Linked DNA regions of Homo sapiens: regions 1, 2 and 3 are each linked to region 4. The links are contacts of gene promoters, found by promoter capture Hi-C in human tissues and cell types (Jung and others, 2019). All regions are on one chromosome and are shown on one strand. The core of a region is centred on a gene start or on the middle of the fragment in contact, and the rest is flanking DNA. Distances in the headings are between cores, read along the strand shown. Region 1 overlaps ANO4 (anoctamin 4). Region 2 overlaps ANO4 (anoctamin 4). Region 3 overlaps ANO4 (anoctamin 4). Region 4 holds the start of UTP20 (UTP20 small subunit processome component).

The links. The method cuts DNA at HindIII sites, captures the fragments that hold promoters and counts their contacts. A contact is called where the count stands out against the background at its distance.
Region 1: a fragment that was not itself captured here is called in contact with the fragment with the promoter of UTP20 in region 4 in 2 of the 25 tissues and cell types used here (dorsolateral prefrontal cortex and lymphoblastoid cells).
Region 2: a fragment that was not itself captured here is called in contact with the fragment with the promoter of UTP20 in region 4 in 2 of the 25 tissues and cell types used here (mesendoderm cells and thymus).
Region 3: a contact is called between a fragment that was not itself captured here and the fragment with the promoter of UTP20 in region 4, in 3 of the 25 tissues and cell types used here (bladder, mesenchymal stem cells and thymus).

Annotation. Positions count from the first base shown.
Region 1 is chr12:100,985,324-100,988,580 of GRCh38, forward strand. It overlaps ANO4 (anoctamin 4), which reads left to right. Exons shown (of 28, transcript NM_001286615.2): 8 at 2,216-2,347. Among named protein-coding and RNA genes, the nearest start is that of ANO4, 190 kb to the left of the region's middle. RefSeq lists enhancers at 1,444-1,969, 3,022-3,257. The HindIII fragment of the contact is 9,616 bases long and covers 1-3,257 here.
Region 2 is chr12:100,943,944-100,947,271 of GRCh38, forward strand. The region is part of intron 5 of ANO4 (anoctamin 4); the gene reads left to right. Among named protein-coding and RNA genes, the nearest start is that of ANO4, 150 kb to the left of the region's middle. The HindIII fragment of the contact is 4,136 bases long and covers 1-3,328 here.
Region 3 is chr12:100,856,552-100,859,476 of GRCh38, forward strand. All of the region lies in intron 1 of ANO4 (anoctamin 4), which reads left to right. Among named protein-coding and RNA genes, the nearest start is that of ANO4, 63 kb to the left of the region's middle. The HindIII fragment of the contact is 3,862 bases long and covers 1-2,925 here.
Region 4 is chr12:101,278,614-101,281,584 of GRCh38, forward strand. UTP20 (UTP20 small subunit processome component) reads left to right here and starts at 1,492. Exons shown (of 62, transcript NM_014503.3): 1 at 1,492-1,714; 2 at 2,503-2,583. The coding sequence starts at 1,670. RefSeq lists enhancers at 1,191-1,782, 1,516-1,565. The HindIII fragment of the contact is 9,089 bases long and covers 6-2,971 here.

The DNA.
Region 1 (3,257 bases), core at 581-3,080, 290 kb before region 4:
TTTTTATTTTTGGAAAAAAGAGAAAAACAGTAATAATAGCCAGCATTTCCTGTATACCAGACAGTTCTAAAGACTTTATATATGTATTAATAAGTTCATCATCACAACTCTACGAATTGGGTATCATTATCATGCCCATTTTATAGATAAGGAAACTGAGGCTCAGCAAAGTTAAATCACTTGCCCAAGGTTTTGCTGTTAATATTAACAGAGCCAGGATTTGAATCTAGGCATTCCAGCCCCATAGTTCATGTTGTCAACCACTGTGTCATGCTGCTTCTCTAAAGCCCATCATCTCACTATATTTTAAGTATATTTCTTTTGGGGCGGAGGGTTCTCTTGGGGAGGAGGGTCCTAGAGCCACTGTGAGATTCTTTTCAGTTTGACCCTTTGGGAGTTCTGAAGAAGGACAGCCACCACCAAGCAGAGTTGGGATCATGGTGAGGCTGGAACAATGCTGAGAATAAAGGAGATAGTGAAAGAGAAGTTTACCATTATTTTTTAGTTTGGAATTGATTGGTTATATAAATAATATTATCTTCAGCTGAGAGTTTCACTGTGATGGTTAATTTTATATGTTCAACCTGGCTGGGCTAAAGGATGCCCAGATAGCTGGTAAAACATTATTTTGGGGTGCATCTGTGATAATGTTTCCAGAAGAGATTAGCATTCAAATCAGTAGACTTAGTAAAGAAGCTGATCCTCCCCAGTGCAGGTGGGTGCCATCCAACCCATTGAGTGGAACTAGAAGATGGAGGAATAGTGAATTTGCTGCTGCTTGAGCTGGGACATCTCTCTTCTTCTGCCCTTAGACATCAGTGCTCCTGGTTCTCTGGCCTTCAGACTTGGATCAGGATTTGCACGGTTAGCTCATAAGATTCTGGAGAGCAAGAAGTCCCGCAATCTGCAGTTTTTAAGAAGGAGGCCTAGGAAACCTGATGGTGTAAGTCCCATTTCCAGTGTAAAGGCCTGAGAACTAGGAAGGCCAATGTCCAAGGGCAGGAGAAGATGGATGTTCCATCTCAAGCAGACAGCAAATTCACCCTGCCTCCACTTTTTTGTCCTATTCAGGTCCTCAATGGATTAGATGGTGCCCACCTGTGTTGGTGAGGACCAACTTCTTTACTAAGTCTACAAACTCAAACACTGATCTCTTCAGGAAACAACCCCACAGACACACCTCAAAATAATGTTTACCAGCTATCTGGACATCCCTTAACTTAGCCAAGTTGACACAGTAAATTAGCCATAACATTCACTGAAAAGAATACATTGCCATGTAAATATATTGTTTTAATTAGGAAAAAAATAAAGCATGACCAAATTCCACGTGTTTTCAGTTAATAAATTTAGAAGGTATTTTTTCCAGTAGTATAGACACTTGAGGTAGTGCTATCATTTTAAAGTTTGGTGTGGTTTTTGCGCCTTCTGGTGTTTTTCTGTGAACAGTGATTGGGAACTGTTCACTTGGAAGCCAGATGTTTTCATCAGCAGAAGTCAGTGGAACCGAGGGACCAGGGAGATAGCCAGAGAGAAAACTGTAGCTGAAAACCACTTTTAGGATACTGTTGTTTTCATTGACTTGGCTTCATTAGAGTGACACATGTGTGTCACGATGCCCTAGCACCATGAGAACCATGGAGCCTGCTTAAAAAGAGATCAATGAAAGCCAAAAATCCGGCTGCCTGCTGAGAGGCTGCTCAGGGGAGGTGGGAGAGGCAGGAAGCAAATCATGGCATGGAGCTCTCTGCACAACTCCCAGGATGTGCTGCCAGCACCCCCTCCCGAAAGTTAATTACAGCTAGAGCTCTTCTCTGACCTCAGATGTTTTCCAAACACAAAATGAATTTTTTAGAACCTACAGAATGTAAGTTAAGATCTCTGCTGCTTGCTTAAGGGACTGTTGGAATCCTTTTCAGAGCTTTCCAGCCTTGTTAGGACTGCTTGGTCATTTATTATTGGCATGTGGGTGGACATCTAACTCACAGCTGCTATTTCACAAACAGTAATAATATTGAGGCCACTTGGTGAAATCAAAACAACACTAGAGTTCTGGCTGTCTTCTTTCCATCTATAAAACAAGGATATCCTGAGTGCAGTGAGAGGGCCTGGAATGTGTGGTATGATAGTTGTGGCTCTGCGGAGACCTTCCTCCTGTGTTTCAGGGCATTGCTGACATGCTGTACCCTTTGGTCTTGCCTTCCATGTACCACAGGATCGATAAACAAATAAGCAGGTTTCGGAGATGGTTACCTAAGAAGCCAATGAGGCTGGACAAGGAGACACTGCCAGACCTGGAGGAGAATGACTGCTACACTGCCCCTTTCAGCCAGCAAAGGATCCATCAGTGAGTGTTCCATGTTAAAGCCCCATCTCACTAAGGATGTGCAGCTGTGGTAGAGCCTCACCCTGCACGCCTTTGATTCCTGGGCATGAGGAAGGAACAGCATAGTGCCCTTCTCCCCTAAAAGTCTTGTGAGTGTTCATATCCCTTTTATTTCAGTCAGGGGAAGATAACTGCTGTAACCAACAATCCCTGCATCTCAGTGGCTTAAGATGATACAATGCTTGCTCATGTGTGTGTTGGGTAAATGATCTTCTCCACAGAAAGGCAGTGACCCAGGCTCTGTCATTCTCATTGCTCTGCCAACTCCCTGTGCACGGAGCCCCCTGCAGGCTCATCTGCATCTAGCCAGCAGACAGGAGGAGTGGCCTACACCTTTTCCCATTGAAAAGAGGGTTTTTTGTTTTCCGGTTTTTGTTTTATCTTGGTTCACTTCTCAGTTCCCCTTTCTTCAGCAGTTCACTGGGTTGCCTTAGGAAAAGCCACATCACCTGGCAGCCCACTTGCTGAGTCATCTGTCAGATTGTCTCAGAATGGTTATTTGTCACTTTTGACATGGGGGGAGGAAAAACAAGTTGGCTAAGTCACTGAGCCTGTGAGGAACTGCAAAAATGAAAGAGAATTTACTCTGAAGCTTCTGAGATGACAAGAAATGATGGCTGGATGCAGGGCAGGGCAGGCAGGAGGACAGAAAAGCCTGCCGTGTGCTGGAGACTGTAAACAATAGGAGAAACACAGCCTCTCAGTGGAGGCAGAGATCAGGTCAGCCCCACCTCCCTTGCAACAAGATCAGGAATTCCAGGCCCTCTTGCTCCAGCAGTAGTGACAGCCTCCATAAAAATGACTTACCTGGAGGGAAGAAAAGGGTGATGGATTTAAAAAAAAAAAAAAAAAGGTTGCTGATTTTGTGAGA
Region 2 (3,328 bases), core at 547-3,046, 330 kb before region 4:
TTGCTACTTAATCTAAAATAATGGAAGTCCTCCCTCTGACCCATTCTGACTCTGTCAAAATTCTGATTCCCATCAAAACTAGATAGCTTTGTTCAATTAATGCAAGATTTATATTTTAAGCTTCATAAGTATTCTCTACAGGCCTAGGGCTTCTTCTGTATAGATCTTTTCAATGTTATTTCGTGATTTATTCGTTAGAACTTAAAAAGCCTAATGCTTTTCCAAATAGCGCACATTAAAGTGATGGAAAGTGTCCTGTTGTGTATCCTAAAGCATCACCTGTACTGCAGTGTTTAGCTACCAGAATTTGAGGAGGATCATGCTGCCTGTTGTACAGTTGTGCTGCACAGTACAGTGTGGAGCATGCTGTGAAGAATGGACTGCTTGTACGATTTTGTCTATATACAAGATAGTTTTGTTTGTTGGAATTTAAAAAAAAAATTTTAACAGGTATTTATTTTAATGTGTACTGGAAAAAATAGCAATTGGAAAAAGGGAATTATCACTATATGGCAAAACATCATAAAAACTTATCTAAGCATTTCCCCCCTCCCCACTTTCCCCCAAAAGTTCTTCTCTGGGCATCACCTTCCATATTTCTCCTTTCCTCCACAATCTTTTAGACACTACAAACAGTTAGGTCTTCCCCTTTCTGGAACCTTCTTCACAAGTGACCTCTCCCGCTGCCTGGCTCGAGTCTTGCCCTGACTTTGCATAAATGGTGCAATTTCTCTCTAATGCAGCCTCCCAGCTCTGCTTTGCATCTTCGTGGACTCAGTCAGCTCAGCAAGAAAAGGGCCTTTGCAGGTTCTCTTATAGATAAATTAATTTTTCCCTGCCATAAATAATTAAAAGAAAATATCCCTTGGCTGAACAGTAAACAAACCTTCATCCTTTATTCTCATAATAAGTGGCAGAATTTTTATATGAAGTATCTACATTGTATTATTAAATTTAGAAACCGTTGGAAGTATTTTTATTTAAATCAAGTTTTTTATAAGCAGCTACAGCAGAAAGACAATTTTAATGGCGATTTCAGCTTCCAGGAGTTAATTCAACCTTTTATAGGACATAAAATGAAGAACTTAGTTCAGGGTGGAAAAGAAGAAACACCCTAGGGACCCTTGTATATCTGAAACGTTTGACACTATGCACATTTTATGAATTATTAGTATCTTCTTAATTAGCTGTTGTCATGATGTCTAACAATTATGAAAAACATGTTTCACAGACAGATGCTTATGTTTCCAAATAGACAAAGACAGGCTTTCTAGTTCAGTTTAACATCCTTATCTCTTTAACATTGAATTTCAAGAAACACAACTAGGATAATCTTTAATTCATGATAAAAGTGAGGACATAGTCAAGTTTAATCTTTCTTAAAACCTTTGCTCCAGGCTGATTAGTCAACACATAAGTGCTTGCTTTGGTACCCTGGGTCTTTAATATTCTGCAATTCAACTTTCATAATAGCCCAGAGAAAGCAATTCACAACAAAGTTCCCAAACAAAATATCATTGAAGTCCAGGTGATTTACTTCTTAGTATCTATCCACTTAAAGTGATTCCCTTCTTAAAGGTAAGCTCATATTTACTAATTAACATTTTCTATTTCTGATTTTTTCATTTTTAATTCTATGTCCATTATTGATCTTTGGATACCTATTTTGAAATCATTGTCCTCAATAAGACATTTATCTTTTCTTTTGTATAACTAGTAAGAGGATGAGTTAACTTTGAATTATTTGGAATGTGTGAGTAACAGTTGTACTAATGGAGCACCCTCCCGCTTCAGAATCATGTGAAACATTGGGGAAGACCTTTATCATTACAGTCCTTACAAAACTAATATAATTAGGTAAATCATATCATCTTGATGATGGTTATTTCATTCAAAAAATATTTATTGCACACTCACTCTATGCCAGGCATTGCTTTAAGGACTAGGATCTCAGCAGCAACAAATAAAACAGAAAAAAAAATCCCTGCTTTGTTGGAACTTAAACAAAAAATATGTACAACATATACAAATATCAGTAAGTGCTAAAGAGAAAAAAGTAAAGCAGGAAGTGTTGAGAGGGGCTTGCAATTTTATAAAAGTCAGCAAGAGTGGGCCTCTTTTCCACAGAAAGAGAATAGCAAGTGCAAAGAGAACAGCTCCACAGGATGGAGCATGCCTGGTGTGTTCATGGAACAGTGAGGATGCCAGTATGACTGGAGTTCACTGAGCAAGGTGAAGAATAGTGAGAAATTACACCAACAAGGCAGTGGAAGCCTTAGTGATCACTGGGGGATGTTAGCTTTTCTCTGAGTGACATAGGAAGCCACTGGAGAGATTTGAGCAGAAATATAAGATCTGTTTTCTGTTTTAATAAGGGCATTCGGGTTGCCTGGTAAGATTAGACTGTGAGGGGTGGAGGTGGCAAGGGCAGAAGCAGGGAGAATAATTAGGAGATTCGTTGCAAGAATCCAGGAAAGAGATGATGGTAGCTTGGTCAAGCACATAGAAGAGAGGAAGATGAGAAGAGTAGAAAGTAGCACTGATGGGAATTGCAGACAGATTGAATGGGCAGTGTAAAAAAGAAGAGTCACAGACTATTTGTCTGACACATGGTATTTATCTAAGCAGTTGGGAGAAGACAGTTGCCACTTACAGGGATGCGGAAAAGAGTAGGTCAAATTGTAGACTTGTTAAGATTGAGATATCCCAATGGAGATGTTGGGTAAGATAGAAGAGTCTGGGATTCAAGGAGAGATCTGGACTAGAGATACACATTTGAATGAGATCTCCAAAGGAGTAACTGCAAATAAAAATGAGAAGAGGTCCAAGGATTGAGCCATGGGGAACACTAGTGTTACAATTTGGATGATAAAAAGGAGGCAGCAGAAGAGACTAAGAAGGAGTCACCAAGGAGCTAGAAGGAAAATCTAGAGTGTGTGGTTCAGGAGAGATGGAGGAATCAACTGTGTCAAATGCTGCTGATGGGGTGTGTACGATCAAAGCTGAAAGTTAATTATTGGATTTAGCAATATGGCAGGTTTGGGTGGTCTGGGCAAGAGAAGTTTCAGTGGAGAAGTCAGGGGTGAAAGCTTCATTAAAGTGTCTTCAAGAAAGAATGGGAAGAGAAAATACAGAGACAACGAATACAAACAGTTCTTTCAATATGTTTCACTGTAAAGGAATGGAGAGAAATAGAATGATAACTGGAGTATGAAGTTTGGTCAATAAAGAGTTCTTTCTATTTTAGATGGGAGAAATAAATACATGTTTTTATGCTAATACAAACTATATATTTGAGATGGAAAATTGATGTTGGGAAAGAGTGGAG
Region 3 (2,925 bases), core at 39-2,538, 420 kb before region 4:
GAGTAAAGGGTATTTTGAGAACACAGAAGAGGGGAAGCTATTTCAGCTTGGCAAGAAGGATGAAGAGTGGAAGATGGTGGCTCTATTAAATCATAAAGGATGGATAGGAAGAAGCTTGCCAGGTATACCTCACCCATGGTGAGGGAAGGGAGTTTCAGCCTGAGCAAAGGCACGGGGTAGGAATCAGCATGGTGGATGTGGGAATCAGAGCAGCTTCGCATTGTGGAAGAATCACATGTGAGGCAGAGAGTGGCAGGATATAAAACCAGGGCTAGATGGTGTTTGCTATGGTAAGTAGTATGGGCTTGATTTTTTTAGGGCTGCTGAGGATCTTAAAATATTTAAGAGGGAAACTTGGCAGGACTTTCTGATTGACTGGATGTGGGAGTAAGGATGTGAGGGAGAGAAGAGCAAAATATGATTCTCTGGTAGACTTCTTCTTTCTTCTCTAGTTAGTGAGTTTATCAAGATTTAAGATGGTAGTGGTTTTGTTTCAGCAGAAGCCATGCAGTGTGGTGTCATGTGGCAGTGGAAAAACCATCATGGGGCGTATGGAGACTCAAATGTTCCTGAAATGCCTGAGAGAACATCCAGGGACATTTGGAGGTCACTGCCAGAGGCCATGCACATTGTCCAGTTTTCAGTGGTTTCTCTTCGTTGCTAAGAAGCTTGAACATATACAGAATGCATTTAATAATGTTCAGAAAACCTTCTTAAGTGGACAATCTCAAATGTACAACAGACAAAGCAGAATCAGATATTTTTTTGGATGGTATACCTCATTAGTACAGAATAATTACAACATTAGGTGATAATAATAGCAACTGATATTTATGGAGTACTCACTGTTTTCCATGTAGGATGTTAAATGCTTTACATTCGTGATCTGACTTAATCCTTACCATAATCCCTACTCAAGGAAACAAAGGCACAGAGCATGTAATTACTTGCACACGGTCACTAACTCCAATGCAAACCCTGAGGCATGCCAACTCCAAAGCCCTCATTTATAAACTCCAGGCCATATTGCCTCCCCATGAAGCTGATACGCAGACAAGTGTGGTGCCACTTTGAGATTCTCTGGGTTCAGCTGTCAAACAATGACATCATTAAATTATCCATGTAAAATAAGAAGTTGAGTCCTCTATATCCGCTGTGTTTGAGGAGTGGCAGGATGTGGGATGAAAGAAAGAAATTGGATTGCCTCTGAAGCCCTCTGAATTTGTAATAGAACTACAGCCTCCTCAAACCAAAATTATAAAATAACCTACATCACTCTGAAAGAATTTTCTTACTAAATACGTTAATGTGAGAAGACAAAACCAAACCACCAAAGATAATATTTGAATATTGATAATATTCAAACCTCATTTGAAATCAAACCACTAGAACCAGAAAAGAAAATGAAATGTGACTATTTAATTCCTCAGCAGAGATATATGTATGAAAACATAATTTCTATCACTGGTGATAGGAGAATTTGATATTGAGGACTTCATGAGTTGGGAAGAGCGATTTCTTAAATGAAGGTGATAAAAGCCTGTATAAATAATACAGTCATGTATTGCTTAATGATGGTGATATGTCTGAGAAATGCATTGTTAGCTGATTTCATCACTGTGGGTACATGAAAGACTGCACTTACACAAGCTTAGCTAGTATAGCCCACTACATAGCTAGGGTACATGGTATGGCCTGTTGCTCCTAGGCTGTAAACCTGTACATGTTACTGTATTGAATACTGTAAAAAACTTTAACACAGTGGTATTTTTGTGTCTAAACCTAGAAAATGTACAGTAAAAATATGATATTATAATTTTATGGGACCGCCATCATATATGTGGTCCGTCATTATGAGGCTCATGACTGTCTAAGATAAAACTGTAGGCCTCATACCAAATAGAGAAGATTGGCAATATCTATATGTATATGGGTGTGGATTGTATAATTAATTTCTACTTAGTATCCTTTGCTTCTTAGAAACTTTAAGTTCCCTCAATTTAAAAAAATCCTTCTTGATTTCTTTTGCTTTTTAAAGATATTTTGATGTAAAAGAGCTTTTGTTTTTATTTTCTTTGCCTGGTTCTCCACTCAAAAATTTAATGCCTGTGTGACTTAGAATTCTCATAAGATTTAGCTTTCTGTCTTTTTACAGATATGAAGTGGCATAGTAGGATTTGGGGTCCATTTTCCCTCAGCTTCCTATTTCTTGCCAGTAGCTTCATTGCAAAACCACTCTACCATCTGCCCTGCTTCTTTTTCTGCTTCCACCCCCAGTTCCCTCATTTTCTAATTACTCCCAACAGGAGTGACTCAAACATATATTGGAAGCAAGATTCCCACAGTTGCCAAATAGGAGCAGGGAAGTGCCACGTACTAGGTTTTCACAAAAGAAGTCATTATGTATCTGGATTTTTATCTGCCAGAGAAGAAGAGGAATGCTTGAGGAAGTCAAGTCTCAGGGCAAAAAAGTAACATAATAAACAAATTAGAGAATGGCACTTTCACATTACCATTTCTGTTACATTTTGTGGTAGTCTTTCAGGCTGTTCACAAGTATATGGCTCCCTTCCTTTTTTGGGCTATAGTACAGTATCGTTCCGTGCTAGTATAGTTCGGTCCAGGCTCTTCTGCACTCCACTGAACTCGGATATGGCCATATGACTTGACTTGTTTTAGCCAGTTAAATGTGAGTGGCAGTGACAGGTGTCACTTCTGAGAAGAAGCTTTAAAAGCCAGTGGCTTTAAGAGCATATTTTGATGTCTTATTTTTGACAGTAGTTGCTCTATCAACTTGAGTCTTTAAGTGACAGTGTGAACAGAGCACCCTCCCCATACCAGCTGACTCATAATGGCCAGGTGACATGGGCAAGAAAGAAGCCTTTGTTGTTTTAAGTCACTGAGATTTGGGGAGTAATGTTATGG
Region 4 (2,971 bases), core at 242-2,741:
CTAGTCTGTTTCTACCTTACTGGCTCTCTTTCCCAGTCGCAAATGCCTCACACTTGAGGTATTTAGGTGTATTTAAGTCACGTCTGCAGCCCAGACTGCTACAGTGAGCTCTGTACAACAATATATCCAATTGTCTACTTAACATCACTCCTTGACTAAAATGTAAGCATCTCAGACCAAGTATTTCCAGTCTGGGCATGGTGGCTCACCCCTGTAATCCCAGCACTTTGGGAGGCCAAGCCAAGAGGACTGCTTGAGTCCAGAAGTTTGATACCAGCCTGGGCAATATAGCAAGATCCCATCTCTACAAATAATAATAATAATAATAATAATAATAATAATAATAATAAAAGAGCTGGGTGTGGTGGTGCATGCCTGTAGCCCTAGCTACTTGGGAGGCTGAGGTGGGAGGCTCACTTTAGCCCAGGAATTGAAGGCTGTGAATATTTTCAAATAATTAATTAATACTATTATTGCCTTTCTCGTTTGGCTCCCAGAACAGTACCTGGTCCACAGAGGACTCTCAAGAAATAGTTGCTGAATGAATGAATGAATGTAAAATGGGGTAAATAATTATATTTTTAAATTATTTTTTAAAATTGTACATATATGTATATATAACTGTACAATTTAACAACATGCTATGTGTAGACATTAAAGTGATGGGAAAAACACCAAACATTAACAGCGGTTGTGCATGAAATTAAAAGATTTTTCTTAAAACTCCTTCTCTATTTTTCAATTTTATTTACAGCGTAGTGGTTAAGAATACCAAAATTTAGAGTCTGAGTGAAGACTGCCAGTTACCAGCTGCACAACCTTGGTTTCCTCTTGTGTCAAATTGGCTTAAAAATATACACAGTACCGGCCAGGCGCGGTGGCTCACACCTGTAATCCCAGCACTTTGGAAAACCGAGGCGGGCGGATTGCCTGAGCTCAGGAGTTCGCGACCAGCCTGGGCAACAAGGTGAAACCCCGTCTCTACTAAAATACAAAAGAATTAGCCGGGCGTGGCGGCGGGTGCCTGTAGTCCCAGCTACTTTGGACGCTGAGGCAGGAGAACTGCTTGAACCCGGGAGGCGGAGATTGTAGTGAGCCGAGATCGCGCCACTGCCCTCCAGCCTGGGAGACAGAGTGAGACTCCGTCTCAAAAAAAAAAAAAAAAAAGTATATATCTATATATAGATATATAGATAGACGCAGTACCTCCTTTGTATTAACATCCCTAATAAGCTTTACTGTGAAATTATGGATGAAAGGATCTTTGCACGATGCAGGTACGTAGTGAGGGACAGTAATGTTAGTTGATAACGATTACAGGTATGTTTTATTTTATAATGAAAATACATTTGTCTTCTAAACCTTTACCGAAGGGAGTGAAAAGAACACCTCACCCAAACGCCCGCCCTTATGTGCGCAGCCCCGCCTCCTGTAGGCCCCACCCCACCAAAGGGTGCGCCTGCGCCGTTCTTTTTTCCGTCCACGTGACCCACTCAGGCTCCTCCTTGTCTCCAACATGGCGGCGCCCAGGGGCTCAAGCCGCACGTGAGAAAGTCTGGGCATCTGGGAATCGGAGAGTATAGCCTGTGAGCCGCTTTCCCCTCCTTACTGTCGGTTGCATCCCTTCGACACTCCCGAGGCCGTCGCGGGCCACTGGCCCTCTGCAGCCATGAAGACAAAGCCCGTTTCCCACAAGACCGAGAACACCTACCGGGTGAGCGCGGGAGCTTAGGCAGGGAGCCGCGGGTCTCCGCTGCCTCAGTCGTGAGACAGGCTCTGAGCGAGACTCCAGGGGCCTCAGACTTCTGGGCCGAGTGTGTCACTTTCCTGGAGGCTCCGGCGAAAGAGGGAGACACTGGATGTAGTAAACATGGGTTGGAGGAGGAAAGAAGTGTGGACAGCAAGTTTCACCCATGTTTTATGGGGTCTGGCCAGTCCTGGGAATTTCCTGTAGTCCAGAATTAAATTCACTATTCCAGGAGATTGCTTAGGACCAATTCTCCCCTGCTCTTTTATCTTTAAAGACCGAATTGGGCGAGTCGGCTGGCGGTGAGTGATTCCCAGCTAAGGGCAAATATACAGCGCTTTCTCTGTTTGCCCCTTGATAGATTGTTTCCAGGTCTTCCTTAGGATACAATCATAGGTCTGTATATGTTTAAAAACACTTTTATTGCAGCGACTTTGCTAGGTCCCCATGCTTATGGGAGGGTATGAAACCTAATAGATCTAGCGAGACTAATTGCCAGCATCCACCTAGGCTCACCAGTCTGGCAATGGAAATTTTATTTGAAATGACATAGCTGAGAGAAATTATGCAAACATAGAAGTATTCATTATCTTTGAACAGTGATGCAGTAAATTTGTTTACGGCCGTATGTTTTTCAGTTTATTTTTCCACTTATCCTTTGTGATTAGAGATGCCTACATGCAGCATTCAAATAGATATTAAAGATCTGATAAATTTTAATTAATTATGTATCTTAAATATACTTTCCCTTCCAGTTTCTTACATTTGCTGAACGACTGGGGAATGTTAATATTGATATTATTCACCGGATTGATAGAACTGCAAGCTATGAGGAGGTAAGAGAATGTGATACTAGTCAATCTTCAAGTGTTCATGGTGTTTTAGTTTCTTCTGTTAGTAGAAGTGAATTGTTTTTCAAGGTATTCCTTTTTGGACATGAAATGCTTTAGACCTGTGCTGTTTCATACAGTAGCCACATATGACAAATTGGATTTAAAGTAAATTAAAAATTTGGGTGCCCAAATGTGGCTAGTTGCTAACATATTGAATAAATATAGAATTGGAACATTTTCATCTTTGCAGAAAGTTCTGTTGGGTGAAGCTCTATTAGACAATTGACTTGACTTTCAGCTGTCTTTGTGATTCTAGCCTCTCCCTTTCCCTTATGCATTCCAAGCACTGCTGCAGATCCATATTCCTGAAGCTATAACTTTAAAGTGATTT